Regions from separate parts of the Homo sapiens genome. Here regions 2, 3, 4, 5 and 6 are each linked to region 1. The links are contacts of gene promoters, found by promoter capture Hi-C in blood cells and fetal thymus (Javierre and others, 2016). All regions are on one chromosome and are shown on one strand. Each heading gives the region's core, a stretch centred on a gene start or on the middle of the fragment in contact. The rest is flanking DNA. Distances are from core to core; before and after follow the strand shown. Region 1 holds the start of LMNB1 (lamin B1). Region 2 holds the start of SRFBP1 (serum response factor binding protein 1). Region 3 overlaps CEP120 (centrosomal protein 120). Region 4 has its middle 3.5 kb from the start of CSNK1G3. Region 5 overlaps CSNK1G3 (casein kinase 1 gamma 3). Region 6 has its middle 150 kb from the start of CSNK1G3.

What was found. Contacts are between HindIII fragments. The CHiCAGO score rates a contact against its expected background, and 5 or more counts as called.
Region 2: the fragment with the promoter of SRFBP1 here is called in contact with the fragment with the promoter of LMNB1 in region 1 in 2 of 17 cell types (monocytes and activated CD4 T cells); the score reaches 6.8 in monocytes.
Region 3: a contact is called between a fragment that was not itself captured here and the fragment with the promoter of LMNB1 in region 1, in 2 of 17 cell types (total B cells and neutrophils). The highest score is 7.2, in total B cells.
Region 4: a fragment that was not itself captured here is called in contact with the fragment with the promoter of LMNB1 in region 1 in 1 of 17 cell types (monocytes); the score reaches 5.1 in monocytes.
Region 5: a contact is called between a fragment that was not itself captured here and the fragment with the promoter of LMNB1 in region 1, in 1 of 17 cell types (M0 macrophages). The highest score is 5.9, in M0 macrophages.
Region 6: a contact is called between a fragment that was not itself captured here and the fragment with the promoter of LMNB1 in region 1, in 1 of 17 cell types (naive B cells). The highest score is 10.5, in naive B cells.

What each region holds. Positions count from the first base shown.
Region 1 is chr5:126,774,959-126,779,055 of GRCh38, reverse strand. LMNB1 (lamin B1) reads right to left here and starts at 1,920. Exons shown (of 11, transcript NM_005573.4): 1 at 1,189-1,920. The coding sequence starts at 1,547. LMNB1-DT (LMNB1 divergent transcript) reads left to right here and starts at 2,570. Exons shown (of 4, transcript NR_134485.1): 1 at 2,570-2,761. RefSeq lists enhancers at 254-343, 1,359-2,159 and silencers at 834-943, 1,154-1,203, 1,514-1,593, 1,794-2,443, 3,094-3,143. The HindIII fragment of the contact is 4,360 bases long and covers 1-4,060 here.
Region 2 is chr5:121,960,002-121,964,098 of GRCh38, reverse strand. It overlaps SRFBP1 (serum response factor binding protein 1), which reads right to left and starts at 2,124. Exons shown (of 8, transcript NM_152546.3): 1 at 2,031-2,124. The coding sequence starts at 2,066. RefSeq lists enhancers at 2,139-2,188, 1,933-2,471. The HindIII fragment of the contact is 3,156 bases long and covers 748-3,903 here.
Region 3 is chr5:123,417,323-123,421,419 of GRCh38, reverse strand. CEP120 (centrosomal protein 120) reads left to right here. Exons shown (of 20, transcript NM_001375405.1): 2 at 2,905-3,061. Among named protein-coding and RNA genes, the nearest start is that of CEP120, 4.0 kb to the left of the region's middle. The HindIII fragment of the contact is 2,509 bases long and covers 1,154-3,662 here.
Region 4 is chr5:123,506,653-123,510,749 of GRCh38, reverse strand. No RefSeq gene overlaps it. Among named protein-coding and RNA genes, the nearest start is that of CSNK1G3, 3.5 kb to the left of the region's middle. The HindIII fragment of the contact is 1,938 bases long and covers 1,218-3,155 here.
Region 5 is chr5:123,530,513-123,534,609 of GRCh38, reverse strand. The region is part of intron 1 of CSNK1G3 (casein kinase 1 gamma 3); the gene reads right to left. Among named protein-coding and RNA genes, the nearest start is that of CSNK1G3, 20 kb to the right of the region's middle. The HindIII fragment of the contact is 1,414 bases long and covers 1,206-2,619 here.
Region 6 is chr5:123,661,301-123,665,397 of GRCh38, reverse strand. No RefSeq gene overlaps it. Among named protein-coding and RNA genes, the nearest start is that of CSNK1G3, 150 kb to the right of the region's middle. The HindIII fragment of the contact is 2,086 bases long and covers 722-2,807 here.

The DNA.
Region 1 (4,097 bases), core at 671-3,170:
TCAGCTGGCAGTGCTAATGGCGACCATGAATTTCAGACCCAAATTTTGCAAATCTCTAAAGCATGACATCAACACTTGTTGCCTACTGATGACAGGCCATTTTGCTTATCAGAAAGTCAAAATAAGGCCAGCAAAGGTCTGCAAATGTATCCTTGTGCACTGGAATGAAAACTCGCACTCGCTTAGGTGAATTACAAACTCTCCTTCGCTCAAACACTCAGCATTTACACAGCACCCTGTCACCTGCCCTGGTCTACTATCTGCACAGTGGTCGACTAAGGGGTACTAAGCACAGTCTCTACCCGAAAGCCTGACTATACTACGAGGAGGCAAAAGCTGGGGACAGAGGGCCGCTGCCTGAGGGGTAGGAGAACCGCAATTCTAAGAACGGTAGCCGTGACATGCACAAACCCAGCTTTCCTTCCCTGCGCAGAACCACCCGAGGGACCGCACCATCCCCGCTGGGACAGGACACATTTCCCCAGAGAAAGCTAACCAGCTAGCAAACCTAACTTGCCCGGGGCTGGCTGGAGGCGCACGGATCAAGCTCCGCCTCTCTCTCCCGCCTAAAGCAGGCGTAGAATCTTCGCAAAACGTCACAGGGCCAAGACTGAGCGCGCCAAAGCGGGACCCACCCCCAGGAGACGCGGATGCTGCGGGAAGGTCCCTCCCCTTCCTCTCTCTGCCCGCGCGAAGCTCATTCATTCTAGAGGCGGGCTGCCAGTCCTCCCCGGCCGCCCATCCCGGCACTGCAAATCCGCTAGACGCTTTGTCTCGCGCCGGCCGGAAACTGGGGCGCGCACGCGAGCGCGCGCTCGCGCTCCAGCTCCCCGCACCTGGGGCCTGAGGGGCCGCCTCTCCGCGCCGGCTCCCCGGATTCGAGTGCGAAAGCGGGAGCTCCTTCTCGGCAGTCCCAGGCGCGCACTTACCACGTCCCAGCGGGTATCCAAAATCTAGAAATGGGCATCACGGCCCCCCAGCGCTACAGCTCGAGCCCCCTCCGCGACCCCTGCTCCGCTATGAACTCTAGATTCTTTCTCCTTTCCGGAGACCGAGACCCTGTTCCTTCAGAAGGACGCGTGCATCCTGGCCTCTGCTCCCTCCCCACGGCAGAACCCGGTGAGCTGGTCGCCGCGGTTGCGCCCCCGCCCCTCCTTGGCGCTAACGCGGCCGCCAGCTAGCACTCACTTGAGGAGCAGCTGGTCGTGTTCCGCCTTGCACTTGCCCAGCTCGATCTGCAGCTTGGCGCGCTCGCGGGCCGTGTCGTCGAGCGCGCGTCGCGCGTCGGCCAGCTCGGTCTCGTAGAGCGCCTTGAGGCCGGTGAGCTCACGGCCGCGCACCTCCTCGCGCTCCGTCACCTGCAGCTGCAGCGCGCTGTTCTCCGTCTCCAGGCTGCGCACCTTGTCGATGTACACCGCCAGCCGGTCATTGAGCTCGCGCAGCTCCTCCTTCTCCTGGAGCCGCGACAGGCGCGTGGGGCTCAGCGGCGTGGTGGGGCCGCCAGCGCGGCTGCCCATCCGCGGCGGCACGGGGGTCGCAGTCGCCATGGCGGGCGGCGGAGACAGCGGGGCGGCGAGGCCGCGAGCGGGACCGTGATAAGGAGGGGACGGCAGGGGGCGAAGCGGGGACCGAAGGCACAAACCGGCGACCTGCGCTCACGTCCAGACGCTGGCGTTTAGAGGAACGGAGAAGCACCTGGGATGGCGGGAGCTCGATTACAGCACAAAGGGCAAAGGCGCGCGGGGGGGAACTACGAATCAATCGATCGATCGCGAAATACCCTTTGTAAGAAAACACACACACCCACTCACACACGCACGCGGGAAAATGCAAGACGAGGGTGACTGGAGGCCCAGCAGGGTTCGCGCCGCCGCCGTCTCCTGCTCGCAGCACTTTGTTTCCTCTCAGGCTGCACGGAGCGGCGGGCGGGGGGAGGAGGGCCGGGAGGGGCGGGCTGGAGGCAAGCCGCGGGGGGCGGAGGTGGCGCGGGCCGCGGCGCCGCACTCCCCAACATGGCCGGCACGCCCCGGCGCCTCCACGTGACTACCATGGGCCAATGGGGAGCAGGCAGCGCGCTTCGGCGGTTCGGGGGCCGGGCCTGTAAATTTAAAATCTGGCCCTTGGGCAACCGTCAGCTCGGCCCTCCCGGCTGGGCGGTTCCCGGACCAGGCTCAGGGCTGTAAGGAAGGACGCCTGGGACTGCCCACCCGCGCGGCTCTGGGCCCAGGGCCCTCCCGCCGCCCCGCGGGGACCCCTTGGAGGGGCCGGGCCTGAGAAAGGCGGGAAGGAGCCCGGAGGTTTCCGGGACGGATCTGCGCCACCGCCCACACTCGGCGGTTCAGGGAAATTCAAATATAAACGTCCCTAAAAGCCACACGCGAAACTCAGAGTGTCCCCGGCCACCGCGGGCGTGGTAACCTTATCCCCCGCTCCGCTGGAGGGCTCGGGAAACGGCCTGGAGGCCGGGACGCTGTGGAATTACGTAATAGGCACTTGAGTCCGAGGTTCCAAATGCACGGCTTGCAGGTTCCAAGTACCAGCCTTTATTTTTCTCTCCGGTGGAAAACTGTATCAGGCAACTTCTTTCCATGAAAGTGAGATCTGTGCGTCTTGAAGCCGATAGATTATCACAGAAAAACCAGCAACCCTGATTTTAAATCATTTGCCAACAGTGTTAATGGGCGGTTCCTAATCCGTTTCTTAATTTAAGGGTTTGTAAAATCAAAAAACAGCTCAGAAATGATACGATTAACATATGACGGTGAGTAACTACGAGAGCAAGCTGTTTCATACTCCGTTAAAATCAGGTACATAAAAATCTGAACTTGTGAAAATTTAAGATGAAATAATTTTTTGCTTTTAAAAAGAGGCTCCCAAGATGTCACTGGCAGCTACTTCTATTAGAAAGCACATTCATCCCTTTGAAAAGTTCCTAATTTTTAGCTAACATTTATTGGGACTGAGTGCCAGCACCAGGCTTTTCATGGATTACCCATCCACACAATCTCCGTGTGATGTGGGAAACTGGATTGTTTCTATTTGAAAATTCATCCGGGCGGGCGCGGTGGCTCACGCCTATAATCCCAACACTTTGGGAGGCCGAGTGGGGGAGGATCACCTGAGCTCAGGAGTTCAAGACCAGCCTGACCAACATGGTGAAACCCCGTCTCTACAAAAATACAAAAATTAGCCGGGCATGATGGCGGGTGCCTGTAATCTCAGCTACTTGGAAGGCTGAGGTGGGAGAATCCCTTGAACCCGGAAAGGGGAAGTTGCAGTGAGCCGAGATGGCACCATTACACTCCAGCCTGGGTGACAGGGAGACCCCGTCTCAAAAAAGAAAGAAAGAAACCATCCATTTTATAGATTCACTGTCTGAAGGCTGCTCCGCAGGACTGCGTTTGACAGGTCCCAGGATTCTAATTGACTCGAGTCTGGCCCTTAGCTATACCCTAGATGACCACCTTACCACCTATTAGGAACGCTTCTGTAATTAATGGTTACTTACTTTTAAAATGGCAGAAATGGAGACCAGGATATTCTTTAACTGTTAATCAAGTCATGTACATAAGAATTAGTGAAGAGCACTGGGAGCTGCATATTCATCCCAGATGAATTTTTGGCACTCTGTGAATGATGACATTCTCCTTATTAATGGTTCTATTTCCTGTCCGGTTTCCTAAAATACTTCCTTGCTTTTTGGGGGGTGGGGGGGTGGGGGGGAGGATGGCAGGGAGACGGAGTCTTGCTCTGTCGCCCAGGCTGGAGTGCAATGGCACAATCTCAGCTCACTGCAACTTCCACCTCCCGGGTTCAAGCGATTCTCCTGCCTCAGCCTCCTGAGTAGCTGGGACCAACGCCACCATACCCGGCTAATTTTTTGTATTTTAGTAGAGACTGGGCTTCACCGTGTTGCCCAGGCTGGCCTCGAACTCCTGATCTCAGGCAATCCGCCCGCCTCGGCCTCCCAAAGTGCTAGAATTACAGGCGTGAGCCACCGCGCCTGGCCATGAAATACTTCCTTTCTTAACCTCATTGAGAAATAAAGAATCGAAAAGCTTAGACTTTAAGTATTCAAGTAATCTTAAAGGGAACTT
Region 2 (4,097 bases), core at 875-3,374, 4.8 Mb after region 1:
AAAGCGAATTCAAATTATTTTTCAGATACATTTCCTCCTTGAAGAAGTTAATTCATTTCTTCTGCCTATTTTCTGAGATGGTTTCTTTTAATTTCTATGAGGTATTTCCTATTAAGGGCATTAGCCCTTTGTCATATCTGCTGTATTTTTTTTTTCTAGTTGGTTGTCATTTCTTTTCTTTGGTAGGTTATTCAATTTTTATGTAGATAAATCTCTCTTTCCTTTTGTGGGTTTTTTTTCCCACTAATTTTAAATTATAATATCCTCCATCATCTCCACTTTTTTCTGTCCTTTTTATCTCCTTCACATTAGAACACACTAGACTTCAGTGGTGGATGTGTGTAGTTCCTGCTTTCACAAATTCATGTAATCACCTAGTAAACATATGTGCTACACATGATAGACACATAAACACAGGAAGACAGAAACAGTTACATAAGTGTTTCCAGAGGAGAAAGCAATCTGGGTGCACAAAGAACAGACACCTAACCCAGACCGAGAGGAGTTAATGAAGGTTTCCTAAAGGTCAAATTTTAACTGTTTTGAAGAAGAACAAAAGTTAGCTAAGTGTGAAAAGAGTCTTTAATGACTCATCCCCTGTCATTTCCATCATCAAAGTCATTACAAAATTTGATATGAAGCTCCCTGGGGTTGAAATCCCAGGGACATTACTCTGATCTTTCATACATCACAGGTAACCTAATGCAAAATAGCCCACCAAACGCTTTCTGGCACAAAGCACAAGCTTAATGTATGTTTATGAGTAAATAGTAACTACTTTCAGCTTCCCTCTTCAGCATATCCTGTACTCCACTGTCAACTGAAATCCTGACTCGTTAATCTGGCAGCAGAGAATATATTTCAGTTTTATTTCCTTCTTCATCTCACAAGTTCCCATCAGTGAAGAGTTACTTATCCCTGTATTACCCACGGGTTCTTCTGCTACTAGCCCTTTCCTGCTTATACCAGTCCCTCTGCCTGGAATGACTTCTTCCCCTTTCCTGAATCACTGACTGCAATTCCTGTGCAAGATCCCTAAAGACCAAGGACAAGTATCACCCATTTCATTTTGCCGCCTTTGGAAACTTTTCTGCATTACTAGGTTTTGGAGGCATTCTTCACACATTGTTCTGTAACACAGGTGAGTGTTGCTTAGCTCTCTTACTTGAGTATAGGTTACTAGAAAATATGAAATATCCCTTACACTACTGTGTGTAATCTAAACAGTGACTTGCTCATAAACGGGATAAAGAATTTCCTTTCTGTATCTAACTGTGAGGTCCTTACTCGATCCTTATGTTTCCAGCTTACTTTAAGACTTTGGATGACATTATTTTGTTGAATAGAAGCAGAAACCAGAGGGGGATAAGTGGTAGAAATGGTATTTTGTCGACACCGCACACTATGGAAGTGACGGTGGTGAGAACAAATGTCTGATGAGAATGGACTGAAAAAGCAGAAAAAAGAATTGAGGATAGCAAGTATAAACAGCTCTTTATTGAAGTTCTGCTGTAAACGGAAGCAAAGAAATAGGACACTAACTGGAAGAGGAAACGAAGTACTGAGCATACAGTCTCATTCAAGACCACCAATTTCTTAGAAGCTACAGCTCTTACTTTCTCTCTTTCATTTTCGACAGGCAATAAAGAGCAGGTAATGTGTACTGAAAGTTTATTAAGGGTCAGGCACTTGCAAATACTTTACGTATCTCAGTTAATCTCACAACCCTGGGACGAACTATCTTGAGTTCCGCTTTACAGACGAGAATATTGAACGTACAGGCTAAAGGTTCTTCCCAAAGTCCCACAGACATAAATTCGTGGGGCCTGACACATGTCTCTCACTTTAGTCACCTGGAGACCGAAAAGGGAAATTACCGGTTGCCAAACTCCAAGTTGCGGGAAACCCGCCTGGGCCCACCACGAAAGTTCCTCCAACCGCACCCTCTATGCCCGCCTCCGACCACGCGTCTCAAAAGAGCTGGTTTTGAGGACCCTTAAAGTCAGCCCCATAGGTTCCTCGGCGCTCACCTCGTTATTGAGGTTCAGAGTTCCCGGCTGAGCCATGGTAGATGAAGGAATATGATCCGCCGCTGCCTGCACGTGAACCGGTCTCTCAGACCGCGGCTGCGTCGCCACGCCCCTCAACGGAAGCCTCTTCTGTCCAAAACTCATCCGCCTTCTGCTCTAGCTGCCGCCTGGGAACAAGAAACATTGACGCTTGGAAGGGAAAACCGGAACTGAGACAGAACAACTACCGGCGCAGAGGGCTACGCAACGGAATTGCGCGTTCCTATGGAAACCAGACGGGGGCTGGTAGCTGGGCAACGTCTAGTTTTTCAAGATTCGGTTTGTGTGTGTGTGTGTGTGTGTGTGTGTGTGTGTGTGTGTGTGTGTGTGTTCCCTTGGTACACTGCGCTCGCATTGTACCGGCCTTGGTTTTTCTCTCTAATGGCTAGGGGGGCGCTGAACGGCGGTGAAAGAGCTCTTCTGAAATGATCACTTGAATGAACGATTTTTTGCTTCCATTTTTTTAAATCTAGTATTTGTGAAGATTTCTGCTTTTCTAACAAGCACACCTTTTTAAATCCTCGCAGTTTTTTGTTACAACCTGACATTATAGCTGAGGTGCGGACATTTTTTTCCTGCACACTATAGAAGGGTTTAAATTTAGGGAATAAACATTTGAAGCAAAACCAGGATACACATTTGGTACTGCCTGTGGGAATGGCTGTTTATTAGCCGGCAAGCATAGGAGACGTAAGGGAGTGTGTTTGAATTAGGTAATATATAATTGTCAACACCTTCTAGTATTGACCATTAAAATGTGTCAAATGGTGGTCCAAGAGCTTTACATAAATTAGCTCCAAATCTCCACAGAAATCCAACAAGATAGAAATTATTTTCCTTTTATTAATATTATTTTGTTAGAGACCCAGTCTCTCTTTGTCATCCAGGCTGGTGTGCAGTGGCACAGTCATAGCTCACTGCAGCCTCAAACTCTTGGGCTCAAGCCATCCTCTCACCTCAGCCTTCCAAATAACTAGGACTACAGGAGTGAGCCACCCTACTCTGCTCTGAACTATTATTTTACAGATGTGGAAAGTGACTTCAGAGGCACCAAGTGCCTCGCCCAGAGTCACTTGCCTGGGACTGTCCACTGCTACAGGACTTCAAGTCCAGCTACATAATACCTGGGGTACAGTGCAAAATGAAAATCCAGGCCCCTTTATTCAAAATGCAGGAAAAACGTTTCTTCCGGCGGAGGGTGGTGGCTCATGCCTGTAATCCCAGTACTTTAGGAAGCCTAGGCGGGCGGATCACCTGAGGTCGGGAGTTCGAGACCAGCCTGACCAACGTGGAGAAACCCCGTCTCTACTAAAAATACAAAATTAGCCGACCGTGGTGACGCATGCTTGTAATCCCAGCTACTCGGGAGGCTGAGGCAGGAGAATCACTTGAACCTGGGAGGCGGAGGTTGCCGTGAGCCAAGATCACTCCAGACTGGGCAACAAGAGTGAAACTTCGTCTCAAAAAAAAAAAAAAGTTTCTTCCATAGCGTCTCTTGACTCATCATGGTGTTTGTTAATTTACTATTTAATACGATGCTCCCTAAAGCACAGAGACATTAGGTTGTCAGGGCAGACCCTCAAAGGTGCCTGAGACCCCTGCCCCAAGACTCAGGTAGGAGTGTATACACTGGAGCAAGGTGGCAGCAGTTGCTGGGTGGAGACAGGAGAGCAGGAAACCAGAGAATCCACCTGAGGAGCTTTTGGGGACAGGACCACACATGACCTGAGACAACAAGGCCTTGGCACATGTTCCATTATCCCACTAGACTTCACTTACAAAACTCAAATTCAAAAAGGAAATCACTAATAATTTCAAGACTGTGCCCAAAGCTTAGTTAACCAAGGCCCACTTCTGAGCCTTTGCCGAAGAAACCAGCCTTGTCCAGAACCCATGCTGTTATCTCATAAAACTGAACTCCGCTTAGAATAGCTCTGACTTGGTAAAAGAAATTGGCATTCTTTTAGTTTGGTGCATTATTTGGACACAAATGGATTTAACAGATGACTTCCTGTTGGACCAGTGTTA
Region 3 (4,097 bases), core at 1,159-3,658, 3.4 Mb after region 1:
GCTGTGCGATGTGTGTTAATATTCCTAATACAGAGTTTCAAGTGAGAGCCTCAGGCTTAAACTCAAAAGGTTAGCAGTCAAGGTCTTTCTGACCAGCTTGATTCCCAACCAAGTAGCTTGTGCCGGGGTGAGCATGGTGGGTGGAACATTGAAAAGATCAGCAAGATGACCAGGGTAGAGGAAGGTGAATATTTAGAAATGTCATGGTAAGAAATGAGCTTGTACAACTGGAGCGAATAGGCCTCAGAGGATCTTGAAAGCCAGTTTAGAATTAATGTTCCAAGAAATAGGTTGGCAGCATATATTCCTAAATAGAATGCTTTTCTTGAGTTCAGTTTAGTAGCAGTGTGCAAGGAAGAGAACCTGGAGTCAAGGATGTCTGTTAGGTTGTTTCCACAAACATACCCAAAACTAGCATGTGGTCCTCCCTCCAAACTATTCTTCTCTCTTGTTCGTACTGTATTTCCATTCATCATAACCATGCTGTTGCCTTAAGCCAAGAACCAAGGAGTCATCCTCAGCCTGGATTCACTCTCCATTTCTAACTTCCAAATGGTCATCAAGTATAATTGATTTTATTTTCTGAATAATAATAGATTCTACATACGAGTTTTTGAATGAATGAGTTTACATTGTGAGTGCCTTGGTAAGGGGCCCTCATTATCCACCTAACTTACTGTAATAATCTTTTCAGTAGTCTGATTCTTCAATGTTTTCTTCCTTTCCAGAAACATCTAGACTTCCTCCTTTACTCCCTGGGGATGATCTTTCTGAAATGCAAATCTGATTTTCTTAAAGTCCTTCAGTGTCCTAAAGGATAATGTCTGTATTTCTTAGAATGGCATACATGGCCCTTTGTGGTAGACCTCTTGCCTACCTTTTCAGTCTCATTTCCCCTCATGTATTCTCATCCCTTTGGCTTGGTGGAGGACTCGGGGGACTACAGTCCTTAAGAGTTAACTTGCAATTTCTTGACTACACTTTTAGAAATGCCCTTTATTTAAAAGAAAATGGTTAAGCTTTTACCATGAACAAAATTTGGGCTATGTACTAGATTCCAAGGATGAAAAAGACCATTTCTGTTATCTCTGTATCATTGTCTGCAGCAAGGCAGGCATCTGTTTGTTCCCTTCACATCCTCTGTTCTCAAGCTTGTTGGAAGCTGCTAGTTATAATAATATGGAAAATATAGGTTCTTTGACATATATGACATTCATTTGGGGAAGCTAGGTATCTTTTGGAGCAGCAGAAAATGAGGTCCTGAGATGGGCCTCTGTTAATGCTAATTGGGAGAGCTGTGCGATGTGTGTTAATACTCCTAATACAGAGTTTCAATGAGAGCCTCAGGCTTTAACTCACAAGGTTAGCAGTCAAGGTCTTTTTAACAGCTTAATTCCTACACTTCCCCCACAAGTAGCTTGTACCAGGGTGAGTAGCAGCAGGGATTTCTTCATTAATCAATGGATAAAATTCCCCTCAATAAGATCCACCTTAACAGATTTATAAACAAGAGAACTAGTTGACTCAGTGCAAGATTCTTAGTGCTTCTTCGTTGATGTTCTTTAGCTTCCTATTTTCAGTTTTTTTTGGTTTGTTTCTCTTAACTAGATCCTCAGTTTTTTTAGAGCAAGTACTCTGTTTTACTCATTTTGTACCCCACCATCTGATAAAATACCTGACTCTGAATATGTCTTCAGTAAACATTGATGAAATGGGGTTTGGCAGTACAAATGAAAAGTGATGTGTAGATAGAATATTTGAATATTTCCTGATAGTGTACAGTGTTGTCCTTGAGAATAGAATGAAGGAATCCATGTGGCTATTTTTCTTTAGCTAATTTGGAAAGTATTCTGTTTTTTTTTTTTTGTTTTTGTTTTTGTTTTTTTTTGAGATGGAGTCTTGCTCTGTTGCCCAGGCTGGAGTGCAGTGCTCACTGCCACCTCTGCCTCCCGGGTTCAAGCTGTTCTGCCTCAGCCTCCCGAGTAGCTGGGACTACAGGCGCATGCCACCACACCCGGCTAATTTTTTGCATTTTTAGTAGAGACGGGGTTTCACCAGGAAAGTATTCTTAACTGAGTTAACAGAAAAATTAAGCTGCAGGCAAATTTGTTTTTACTAATTTATTTCCCAGCTCTTCAGATGACTGTTCTCTATTAAGTAGTGCAATAGTAGTACCTAAAATTCGTGTAATCACATTAAGTGTTTAATTCCAGATGTTGTTGAGATCATTCCTACTCAAAGTGTGGACCAAGGACAGCAGCATTCACATCACCTTGGATCTTGTTAGAAATGCGGAATCTTAGGCCCACCCTAAATCTACTGAGTCAAAATCTACATTTTAACAGGGTCCCTAGGTGATTCATGTGCACACTAATGTTTGAGAAGCACACATTTATAAATTATAGCTTTCCATTTGATTCATGTTTCTTATGAATTATGGAAGTGAGTGTATATGTGAGCCTGCATTAGTGAGGTAGCTTATGGAATGCATGTCAACCACACTTAACAGATCATTAGTTTTAAAAAAACACATGCTAGGCTGGGCATGGTGGCTCATGCCTGTAATCCCAGCACTTTGGGAGGCCGAGGCAGGTAGATCACCTGAAGTCAGGAGTTCCAACATGGCAAAACCCTGTCTCTACTAAAAATACAAAAATTAGCTGGGTTTGGTGGTGTGCACCTGTAATCCCAGCTACTTGGGAGGCTCAGGTAGGAGAATCGCGTGAACCTGGGAGGCGGAGGTTGCAGTGAGCTGAGATTGCGCTACTGAACTCCAGCCTAAGCAACAGAGTAAGACTCCATCTCAAAAAAAAAAAAAAACCAGCCAAACAAAAAAACACATGGTAAATGATCCTGTTTGATTTTTGTACACTTTTGATTAATCTATATATTCTGTTTCTCCAGGTCGGCATTTCCCCAAACGTCCAAAGCATATGCTTGTAGTGGAAGCAAAGTTTGATGGAGAACAGTTGGCTACTGATCCTGTGGACCACACTGACCAGCCAGAATTTGCTACTGAGTTAGCTTGGGAAATTGACAGGAAAGCGCTTCATCAGCACAGGTGATTATCATTTTCATTTTAGCTTCTTTATTGGTTTCTTATTTTTCAGGCTGTTATAAATAAATACAGTTTGAGTATTTAATACTTGGGACCAGAAGTATTTTCGGATTTTTGGAATATCTGCATAATCAAAGATACCTTGGGGATGGGACCCAAGTCTAAACATGAAATTTATTTGTTTTACATTATACGCATAGTCAAAGGTAGTTTTATATAATATTTTAAATAAATTTTCATAAAATGAAGTATGTTAAATGCTTGTGTGTGGAATTTTCCGTTTGTGGCATTATGTCAGCACTCAAAGTTTTAGAATTTGGAGCATTTCAAATTAGGAATGTTCAACCTATAAATTTTGTATCTGTCATTACGTTTAATAATTATAGTTATTGAGTGTTTTTTTAAATGTGACAGGAAATTTTTAAAGTACTTTGCAACAATAACAGTTAAACATCAGAACAACACTATGAAGTTGTTATTTTTATTTCGCCCATATTATAGATGAGGAAACCGAGGCCTGAGATGTTAAGTATTAGTAACTTGTTTTAAGTCTGTTAGCTTAGTAGTGGTAGAGCCCAGGCAATCCAGCTTCAGAGCCTAAGCTTTTACACTACACTTACACTGAGCTGTTTGGGTTTTTTTTTTTTCCTAATGTGTGAGACAGTAGATATTCTAGAAATACCTTGATGATACCTACTCATTATTAAATATGGTTGGAATTCCTTGTAATTTCTGTTAATTTATTTATTGTATATTTACCTGGCTTGCCAAGGATATATAGAGGGGTATCCAGTGAAAAGTTATGAAAGTAATTCTATCAAGGTTTCTTTCTAATTAATTTATATTTAATTTTAAACAAAACCACTTTATTAGTATATAAAATAGACTTAAAGTTATAGTATATATTTTTTGTGAACTCTGACTAGAAGCAGGCAACAACAATAAAAGCAATACTCTTATTTATTTAAGGATTAAAAATATATTTTCTTCTGGAAAACATGTTATCACTTTAATACTTGCTTGTTCTCAGTACTAAATT
Region 4 (4,097 bases), core at 937-3,436, 3.3 Mb after region 1:
AAAGTTAACAACATCTCACTCAATAGAAGAGAAGTGTCTGCAACACAGGAAACTCTAAATATTGTCCTCAACTCCCAACAAACCATTTTATTCTCTCTACCTCAAAAAACTCAGTTTTGATAAAGAACACCCACTCTTCTAAGTTTTCATAAATGGTTGAGAAAGTCAAGTGTATAAATATATGATCAAAACACATTTTTAAATTAAAAATGGGCTGGTCTAAGTACGGTGGTACTTACAACGAATTGCTCACAACCAGTTACAGATTTCTTTGTTCCTTCTCCACTCCCACTGTTTCACTTGACTAGTATTTATTAAATTATATTAGAAACGTATGGGAATAAATGTTTACATTTTTAACACTGCAGGGAAGACTTTTGGTTAAAATTTGGCCTATAAGCTCCTATAGATTAAAATTGGCAAAGCCTGGTGTAGTGGTGAATGCCTGTAGTCCCAGGAACTTGGGAGGCTTGAGGCAGGAGGATCTCCCAGTAGTCTAAGGCTAGCCTGGGCCACATAGTAGGATCTTTTCTCAAAACAAAAAAAAAAAAAAAAAAAGCAAGTAACCTAGGTAGGAGGCAATTAAATTTTCAGGTCATTCTATTAACTTATAAGAAAAATTGGTTTGGGAGGCCGAGGCAGGTGGTTCACCTGAAGTCAGGAGTTCAAGACCAGCCTGGCCAATGTGGCAAAACCGCATCTCTACTAAAAATACAAAAATTAGCCAGGTGTGGTGGTGTGCACCTGTAATCCCAGCTACTCTCGAGGCTGAGGCAGGAGAATCGCTTGAATCTGGGAGGCGGAGGTTGCAGTAAGTGGAGATAGCGCCACTCCACTCTAGCCTGGGCGACAGAGTGAGACTAAGTCTAAAAAAAAAAAAAAAAAGTATGTATATATATGAAAAATTGGCAATGTGAAAACAGCTTATATTAATGAAGGAAAAGCCAATACACAGGCATTGCAAGCAAAACTCTTTATCTTATAGCATGATGCTCCAACCTAAGCAGCCAGATTATACTTGTCAATCTGCTATATTACAAATCAAATAGTTTATTTGTTGTGTCACCTCACATTTCCTGGCATTGCCACTCTTCAGGTATTTATATTCTATTAATATTTTCATTATGATTATTGCATAAATTCATGTGATACTGTTGTCACAAGTTTTGTAGTACATTGGAAACTTGCATTTATCAAATTCTCTTTTCACAAAAGCTTTCTCTACATGTCCTGCAGATGCTTTGTGTGAGACAGAGAATGGTATGTAGAGTTTGTGGAATGTAAAGCTGGCCATTTTTTCTCCTTTGTAAGCAGTAAAACTTAAAGTTGAAGAAAGATGGAAATGAAACAGTTTGATTATGGTTTTAAGCAGGAAATTATGAGACTAAGATATTTACTAAGACTTTTCAAAATAAAAACAGATAAAACATTCATTTCCTTCTTTCAAATATTTTGTTTAACTGTAATGGTAAACCTGGCATGGTGATTAACTGGTTGCCAGAATAAGGCCTGAGGCATCACCAAATTATACTTAATTCTTTATTTTTTAACATTATTTTAAAGGAAAAGTACCTGGAAGAAAGATGTAATTAGGAAGAAGTAAACAATGAAGTAGAACGGGGAAGGATGCAAAATGGAGAACTGTAACAATAGCCAGGGGCTGGGAGTAGAGCAACATATTTTACTACGATGAAGAGGAAAATAATTTCTTCCCCCCGTCAAGCCTACAGTCAAGGGGAGAGACAAGAAGGATTGTGGGAGAAAGCCAGTCACATACAACAGCTAGATCAGGTTTTGGGGAAGCTATCGCTTAGCAACCTTTATTTTAGACTGTTACATGAGTACAGCTCGAAAAAGTCAAGACACTGTTTTATACCATCCTTAGAAGGATGATTTGAAGTATTTGGTAGGTGGTAAAATAAATGTACAATAATCACAAAACTTTTCTGAGAGGCTTTATTACATGTTATAATGTTGATCTTCAGAAATGTTTAATAAAATCACATTTCCAGGATTCCTTGTCTTAGCTCGGGTTGCCATAACAAAGTATTGCAGACTGAGTAGCTTAAGCAATACAAATTCATTTTCTCACAGTTCTGGAAGCTGGAAGTCTGAGATCAGGATGTCAGCATGGTCAAAGTCTGGTGAGATCTTTCTTCCTGACTTTCAGATTGGCACCTTCTCCCTGTGTCCTCACATGGCCTTTCCTCAATGTGTGGGCATGGAGAAAGAGGGTGATCTCTCTCTCTTCTTCATCTTAATCCTACAGAAGTCCCCACCTTTATGACCTCATCTAACCCTATTACCTGCCAAAGGCCCTACAAATTCCATCACATTTGGGGTTGGGGATTCAGCATATGAACTTTGGGGAGACAAAATTCAGTTCACAGCACTCCTCAAAGGGGTATTTTCCATGCAGAGAGTATATCATCTATAAATTAAAGGTAAAGGCTAGACAGGATATTAATAAGAGAAGACAACTTGTAGACCATGTTAAAACCTCATGGAGAAAAGAATACATTCTTAAGAGAGAGAACTTCCATGAAGAAAACGCTCCATAGGGAAAAGCTAAAACACCATAAAAATGTAAAAGTGTCTTGCCAAAAAGAGTGACTAAATCTCTAGCTAGGCAATTTAATTTTTGTTTTTTTCCATTAGCAGACCTGAATTTTGGCAGTTTTTATGTAAGTTTGGCTATCCAAAGAATGTTGTTTTGTGATAAATGGAAGTTAGCTAAAGCTGTGATTTTCTTGTAATGGTTTCAAGAACAGCTTGAATTCTGAGTAATATATCAATCTAAAGTTTGGAGATGGTCATAATAATTAGTCCCTGTTCCATTTTCCCTCTTCTTGTCTTCTTTTGCTCCCCATAGTTATATCTTCATATTTCTACCTCAAGAGTCCTTCCCGGCTCATGAGACAAATCTGAGCAAGACTAAATGTCTCATCAGCCCCCACCTATAGGAACCATGCAGCCCTCTGAAGATGTAGAATGCTAAGCAAGAGTACTGGATTAGAGGTAGACTTCAAGCTGTGCCACTTCCCTATATCCCTAATATTTTCCCAGTCTATAGCACTGGACTTCTCCTTTGCTTTTCTTTCATAATTGGAACTGTATCAATTCCTAAGCTCTCATCTAATGTGAAGGTTTAAGCTTGGTTTGGAAAATTTTTCACTAGTCCCTGTTCTGACTAGATCCTAGTTCATTGGACAGGATACTGTTATGATAGATTACCCTCAAGCTACTGAACTTCTTCAAACATCACCCACTGACTAAGCTTACTGGATTACTATATCCTTCTGCTGAATACGACTGCATTGGTGCCACAGCTTGTCTATGCCATCTCTGAACTTCATGTACTCTGTGGACAGTGAGCAAGGGCCTACCTGTGGGGATCAGCCTCTCTAATTATGTTTCTTTAGTCTCAGTCATGCTTGGTTATGCTTGGCCTTAACGTCATCCCTTTCTTCACCAGCTAGTACTGCTAAATTCCTGACATGTCTTCATCCTCCCACCTATGCTTATTGTGGTATCAATGCCATATCTGTCCGAACAAGATCACAGGGTCAACAGAAATTAAAATTGATGTGAGAGGACACTTTAGTTTAAATTCTCACTTCTGTTTAGTTCTCATTCTACTTCTGCTGTAATTAGGATTATACTACTTTTTGGCTTCCTTCTATATTCCTTCCTTATGCAAGCTTTTTAAATAGTCTACACCTCAGCTCATCTGTAAAATGAGGCAATAGTATCTGTACCATATTGATATCGGGAAGATTAAATGAATGATAATCTACAATGTACTTATCACAGTGTCTGACATATAGTAAGCAATAAATAAATGGTTGTTGTTAAATACCAGTATGACCCCTAGGAACCTGCGTTTTCCAGTCCAACATGAGCAGTAATCAGAAGTTGAAAATATCAGATCCCAAGTCGTTTCCTAGCTTTAAGAGCCTAAGACTTGGAACCAGATTGTGGTTCTGAAGCAAAACATTATTATTTGAATTTGCTTCAGGCCCTTTCATAATTTTATTTACCAAGTACTTATGGACATTCATGGTATATTGGCTGTCCAGCATCTATTTACCTTTTCC
Region 5 (4,097 bases), core at 663-3,162, 3.2 Mb after region 1:
GAAGCCACCCTCAGTTTCTAGAGGTTGCCTAGAGTTTCTAGAAGCTACCTATAGTTTGCCATGTGGGCTTCTCCAAAATGGCCGCTTATTTCTTCAAGCCCTCAAGAAAAATCTCTAGCTCTGATTTTCTAAGACTGAGTATTATATAAGGTAGCATAACCTTCTCTTATACCTAAGTCCCAAGCTTTGTATCCTGCTCCAACACACCAATTCTCCCAGGTCTTGGAATCCTTGATAGCTGCTTCCAGACCTCTTTATATTATAAAGAACATAGAATTAAACAAAAGTAGTCCTAGAATCCCATTTAGCTCCTATGTAGTTGTACAGCATTGAGCAAGACACTTAATCTGTCTAAGCTCATTTTAATAATTATAAAATAGAAGGATTAGACTTGGAAATTTCTAAGGGTATTCTTATATAATATGCAGTTTTATAATTGCCTGTCGTATTTGATGACAAGGGCTCTAGTATACGTAACTTTATGATCCCTGAACCTAGCACACTGCCTGACACCTAGGACAGTTAATACATACTGTAGATGAATAAATGAGTTCTTTCTATCTCTAAACATTTCTAGTCAATAAACCCCATCCGTGCACAGGATCCCAAGAATTTTATGAAGAAAAAAAACAGCAGAGAAAACAGAACAGCAAAAGAAACCTAAAGCATTTACCCAGAAATATTAGCCTAGTCCCTCAATCACAAATATAAACTGACAATCAAGCACCACTAGATACATCAGGAAAGCTAACAATATGAAAAACACCCTCTTCCAAAAAATAAAAAATAAAAAAAAGAAAAAACCTCTGGGGGAAGCAGATCATATGAAGAACAGAAGAGAACTTACTTTAAAAACAGCAGCAAAAATTGAAACAATTAGCCCCCAAGGGCTTTTGAGAAGTATAATAACACATAAATATATAAGAAAATAATGCTGCATTAAATGGAATAAACAAGAACAAAGTGGGGGAATAATCCTAATATTTAAAACAAAAATATAAAGACATTAAAAAATAAAGAAAAAAAGACGGAAACAATCCAATACCTCCAACTTCCAACTAATAATAAAAATTAATAGGGAGGACAGAGAAAATTAAGAAAAAGAAATCATAAAAGAAAATTTTCCTAAGCTGGGGCCAAAAGGGACCTCAGAAGGTTAAGAAGGAAAGAAAAGCAACTCTATCATACTACTTGATTCAAAAGCTTGTCATAATACCGTACGATAGATAACTGATTTTCAACTTTTAAATTCAATCTTAGCAAAAAGAAAAAATGCAAGATAAAAGTCCTGTAAAAATATAAATTTAACCAACCTTGACAGTGTTAAAATAATACTACAATTGAAACTGACAGAAGCTCAGCTGTTAATGGGAAATAGGTAAGGTAAAAGGAAGGACGGGGCAAGAATATCCACATCCTGCAAAGTACAGAGTTAAGAGATAACCTAAAAATTTACTAAAACAAGAAATAGAGATGTAAGAACATTATTTAAAGTGTCAATGGTAAGTAATAGATTAAGTAAACTTAATAACTACCCAAAAATTTAAAGACAGAAGGGAAACTGGGAGTATGTGAGTTAAATTTCATCCTTAGTGGAGAATTAAAAGATAATACAAAAATTTGACATAGTATCAAAGAGAAAAGTGTATGCTTATTATTTAGAATTCATAAAAGTAACCACCTGAAGCATTTAAAACTAAAATAACTAAAACTGGTTCTATCTACTGAAAAATTCAAAGACTAGAAATAAAGGGCAAGAGACTATTGCTTATATTTCTTTTCCACATACGGGCATTAATTTAATAGACCTATTAATTCTACTATCAACAAACGAGTAACTTGCATCCTAAAGATAACTAAAAAACACTGTGAAATTTGAGAAGAATATTTCAAAAAATTTAACAGTACAAAGTATTAAGTGCCTCTACAAATCAGTTTTTGCTTTTGTTTGCTTACTTTTAATGAAAACAGACGCCATCAATAATAGTGGAGACAGCTGTGGAGTTCTTAACATGAAATCCATACACTTCCTGAGAATTTTCTAAAGAGAAAACCACAGTTTTCAACAGGTTTGATATCAAAAGATTATGTGATCTTAAAAAAAAGTTAAGAACCACTGAAAAGAATACTGTTATTTTCTCACTGAATTGCTTTATAAATATATTCTTAGAAGCAATCTATCCTAAAAACTTAAGTAATATCAGCACTTTATTTAAAAGCCAACCTTGTTATAAAAAATTATTTAGGGCAGTTTGTAATACATGCACTACAAAAAGGATGAAGAAAAGATTTACATAAAAAAATCAGCAGAGAAGTAAAATGATCTTAGAAATAAAACTATGTAATACTAATATACCATGAGTTTCAGTACCCATTCAAAGCAAATGTATTTTTGCACTTTATAGTAGTCAGGCAAAAACAAAAATATGATTAGAAATAGAATTAGCTACAAAATTCAGAGTGTACATTAAAATTATACCCGTTGCTAAAAATACCTTACTATTACACCAGTTGCTAAAAATACCTAAATATTCTTAAAAATTAAGAGTAATCTTAATATTGTATTATACCTGCAGATGCAGTCAATGGTAAAAACTGAAAATTTCCCTCACAGAAGCTTTAGATTCAAAAATTACAGGAAGAGAATGGAAAAATGCATCTTGAAAACTTAAAAATTAGGCACCCATTAAAATAAAAACTACTGAGAGAAGACTCACAGAAATACCCCCTGCTTACAATTTTTTGTAACATAGTTACTTGTACTGCTCTACATTTTTATTTTTACAAGAGATATTGCCTCTTTAACTGAAACCTTAATCCATCTACTACTAAAAATAACAGATATACATTTAATGTAGCATAAAACTACATGTGTGAATAAATGGTAATAAAATATTTACAACTTCAAATCTGTAATTATTCTCAGTTTACTAACTTATTGAAATATCTACATTCAAAAGGAATTCTTCAAAAGAAAGCTTTTAAAAATTATCTTTGAGAATGAATATAAATAATTTATTTGCTTTCACAAACAATTACAATTTTGATATAGTAATATCTACTAATAAAGATAAAAATGAGCTGCTAAATACAGAAAACATTAGACATAATCTGATTATATGAATAGAAATGTCAGCCACTGGCATACTTCTAATTTGATGACCACTGATGAATCTACAAAACACAGAACAGAAAATCAGATTCTCTAATATGCATGGCCCAATAATTTAGGACTTGACAAAGCCAACTGACCTCCTTAAGACTGCAAACTAAGTCTTAAGTCTTAGTCTTAAGTCTACTTAAGTCTAAGGAGAAAGTAGTCTGAGAACATATCGGTATTAAGTATTGAAAGTTCCTATAGGTATATTTTCATATTTAGCATGTTATTCAATATTGTTTACAAGTATAAATTTACAACAAATGGAAATTTAAAAATCAAAATTTATAGTCAAATGTTACTTGTCATAGAATTGATTTCCCACTGCTTCGTTATCTCAAATGAAAACCTCCAAATTTAGTATATGAAACGACTCATTCAGTGTTTCAAATGCTTTATTCAGTCTCAATAAAAATTATATTACAATACATGTCTTCAGCCTTCTCCAAAATTTAAATCAGTAAAGATATTTGTGATGTGAAGGCTAGCCGTTACATCACATGCTTCTATTAGCAGCAAGTGTCCCAGTTACTGGTTTCTGGCATTAGCTCAACTGTGGTTGTCTAAGAAAAGAATAAACACTTATTTTTAAAAGCTAAATCATTAACTGTAATGTCAAAAATGGATATCAATTTCTAAAATTACATACTACAGAAACTTTTTTTATCCCAGAAAGATTTAGTAACTATCATCTACAACACTTTACAGTTTTGAAACTTGATTTCAGTGATATCTTTGTACATTCCTATTAAGACCCAGGAATTTCTAGCTTTTAAAAATTACCACCCAGTTTTGTTTAAACAATGTTCTCCAAACTGTGGATCAGGGCCCATTAATGGGCCACTTAATCAATTTAATGGGTCTCAGACAACAGTTTTTTTAATAAAATAGTACCAAACAGGAAAGAAAATGGAAAGTACATATGTAATAAGGATAAATC
Region 6 (4,097 bases), core at 515-3,014, 3.1 Mb after region 1:
CCCTCTGAAACAAGAGTTCAGACAAGATATAATAGGAGTCAAGGGAAAAGATAAGAAAATAGAGGTAATGAAAAGTTATGTGTCAGAGTGAAAAAATAGAAAGAAAAAATAAAACTATTACGTACATGAAGGTTACATTAGAGGCATCAAAAGAAAAAGTCATTTCTGAAAACAGAAAAATGTAAAATAACACAGACTGTTAAAGCATTAGAGGGAAAATTACCATTATGGAACCAAAGGAGATCCAACATGTGTATAATTGATATTCCTAAATAAGAAATATCACAGAATAAATATTCAAAGATATAATAAAATAAAATTGCCCTAAAGTAGAAAAAGAATCAAATGAATAAATTAAATTGGCATTGTGTATTTTTAAGACAACTACTATAGTATAAACTTGGAGATGAATGGAGAAATCATTGTAAAGACACTACCCAACTGTGAGAATTAGAAGTACTATAGAACAAAACATAAATGTAATAGGTCAATTTAGAAATGATAATAGAATCCACTTCAAGTAATATAAGGAAAGAAGTGGGAGGGGAAGTAAGATAAAGAGGAAGCATACTCACCTCAACATCTCTTAGAAGGGGAGTCAAACAGACATTGAATCTTAAAGTAATAACACCTCAAATCATGACTTACATATGTAAACACATTTTTAAAATAAACATCTTAGAGCATAGAGCAATCAAAAAATGATTAAAAACTAAAAGCTTACTAATAAAATTACAAGTTTTAAGTCCAAAGTAGTTGTCAAAATTCTGAATGTAAAGGAGAAGAACATAACCCATGTGTGTGTATATAATCCCCTCATGTTAGATCAAGAAGGAAAAACTTTCTATATAAAATTTTCTGAAAGTCTTGAAGAAAAAGAATGGCAAAGATACACCAGTAAACAAACAGACAGACCAGAAACTGCTGGTCAAAGAGGAGTCAGAGATCCACTGAGTTGTAGTTGAGAGACCCTACTCTTCCCTCATCCATGGCAAGGACAATGAAACCAAAATTTAACACATAATCATAATAAATAATAGCCCAATTTCAACACACCTCACTGCCTCTTTCGATGTTTATTCAACAGCATCAACAATTTTTAAAACCTTTTCACTATATTTGTAAGTCATTTTAAACTGAGAATTTAAACAAGCCTATCCTGAATCAAAGATTTCTTTTTTTTAATAGCTGTATTTCACGGTTGCTTTTACGAAAACAATACTTTCCCTTTTTACATAATTTTTTAAATTCCTTTTTATTCACTGGCACAATTTACTTCTTCACTCTAAAGAGAGGAGAAGAAAAAGGACTATCTGAAAGGTGATGGTAACCCACTGAGTTTGATATTATTTGCATACTTTTCACAATATGGTTCAATGCTTCTTCAAAATGCACTAAAGCGGTCTAACAGCCAGAAAAAAAGCTATGTTATAATCCTCCAGGAAAAGACACCTCCATAATATTCCATGCAGCTTAGGAGAACTCTAAGGCTCATGGAAAATATGAGCTGTTCCTAACACCAGAGAATCATAGGACAACGGGGAAAGTTGTCGTATTCCCCACCAACCTGGGTGTGATAGGTCTTCCTACTGAGGACATGATGACTGGAAATGACAATCTAGAAAATAACTGAGAGCCAAAACAAAAAGCCACCAGGATGTGGCAGGCAAAATTTTCACTGGGAAGTGTCAAGTTCAATAGAGACCATGGATACCACAAGGCTGGACATACTAGTAAGAAAGAAAGTCTCAGCAGAATTTACCAATATGTATCATAAGTGCCCAACCAGAGGAGTAAATGAGTCCAGGTGATTTTAATACATGAAATTGTAATTAATAAAAAAAGTTACATGTACCTAATCTGAGGTCCTAAAATTATTACTAGTTAAGCTGTAACATTTGAAAGTGAATTCATTTTAACCTTTCCACTAAAACGGACCAACAGGTTTTGGGTGAGAGCTTGAGTCAGTAAGAAAAAGATAAATCACCAAGAAGCTGTTCTCTTTTGTTCTCCTGCTGAAATGATTGTACAATATTTACATGAGTTGGTGTGCTTTCATGAGTTGACCAATCCTATCTAAATAAACATTTAAAATGCATATCTTGGGTATTACTTGTGAAATTAGCTAGGAACATTGTTTCCCTTGTGTCTTGAAAGACAGCTGACATGAGTAGTATATTGAAAGGGGGAAGTGGCTGAGAAAGGAAAAAAGCAGATACATGAGAGAACAAAAAGCTGAAAACTGAACGAACACATTATTTTCCTGTAGTCTAGATGTTCACGGGGCCAACAATTCACTTTCAAGCCTTAACTATTTTATTTATTTATTTATTTATTTATTTAGAGACAGAGTTTCACCCTTTTACTCAAGCTGGAGTGCAGTGGGGCGATCTCAGCTCATTGCAACCTCTGCCTCCCCGCCCCCCACTACTGGTTTCAAGAGATTCTCCTGCCTCAGCCTCCCCAGTAGCTGGGATTATAGGTGCCCGCCACCATGCCCAGCTAATTTTTGTATTTTTAGTAGAGACGGGGTTTTGCCATGTTGGCCAGGCTGGTCTTGAACTCCTGACCTCAGGTGATCCACCCACCTCAGCCTCTCAAAGTGCTAGGACTACAGGCATGAGCCAACGCACCTGGCCAAGCCATTAACTACTTTAACAGAATCACTTTCTTGAAAAAGTTATTTGTGCCTTAATTTCATATAGCTCATCACATAAAAATAAAAAGGCCAGCTGGACTTTGCATTCATACATTTTAGGACTGCCACTCTCCCAGTTAGGAACTGTTAAGAAGACAGTTGAGAAGCTTTTGTTTTTAAATCCTGAGGAAAGCAGCAATGATCACAATGAAAACTTGGAGTGCCTCTGTGAGCCAGGCTTTCTCACACATACCATCTCACATAGTTTAAGTGAGAGAATGCAAGGTCTTGAAGAGAAAATGGGATTTGGTTCTAAGGGATGAGGTTGCGGGTGGGCTAGGAAACAACTGGAAATCTCGGAATTAGTGGGGGATGGTTCTGGTTCTTATATAGAAGAGACCAGAATCTCCCTCTAATACGGTGTCCTGATGAGGTTGACTGAGATAAAAATGAATCCTAGGAGGTATGGCCTTGGCTGCTACAGAAGAATTTCCACTGGCTTAGTTGTTTATAGGGAAAACTGATGCTCTGAACAACTGACCAACCCACTTTTAAATGTTCCAACTGGACTGAAACAACGAGCAGGGTCTGATCAACTATGCTCACAGAAAACCAGAGCCCCTAGTCCAGATTTCTGGCCTGATTAAACTCTCAAGGATTTGTTCAGCTCTAGGGTGGGGGAGGGCCTTCCCAGTCATGACTGATATTGGTTGTCTTGCTAACCTATTTGAACAGAGGCTTAGATTTAATTTGACTTAGAAAAATAAAGCAATATGACGTGTCTTACACTTGAGTGTTATGAAACAAATACATCTCTGCCTCAATCATAGTCAACACAAGCTCTCCCTCAGCAAAAATGTATTGTGCTCAAATAACATCACTGCATTAAATGCAACTGTTACCCAGAGTTTTTAGTCTACTGTCATTCTCTTCACACTTTGCCCATAACATGGCTGTTACACAGATTTAAATGAAGTTAAGAAATATTATCTAATAGCAATTAACAGATGAAATTGATGTGAGGATGGGACAGAATTCTAAATTCAAGGCCAACCAGTAAGACTTGCCATTGACTTGCTAAGCTTAGATGTCAGTAGCCCAAGGGCTCTGATAGGTATCTCTCTTTGTGAGCCATTCCAACAGCCCAAACATATTAGAGGCAGTGAATACTGTAGCACTGCACGCAGAGATACTCTCCTCTGATCTTTACATCTTGTGGTTGGCTAAATAATGTCCCCAAAGGTGTTCATGTTCTGATCCCCAGAACCTATAAATATTAATTGATTTGACAAAAGGGACCTTGAAGGTATGATTAAGTTAAGGATCTTGAGATGGGATTGACCTATATTATCCAGGTGGGCTCATGTATTCACAATTATCCTTATAAAAGAAAGTTAAGACACCAGAGGGAGGAGAAGTTAATATGACGACTGTGGAAGCAGAGACTGGAGTGATTGAG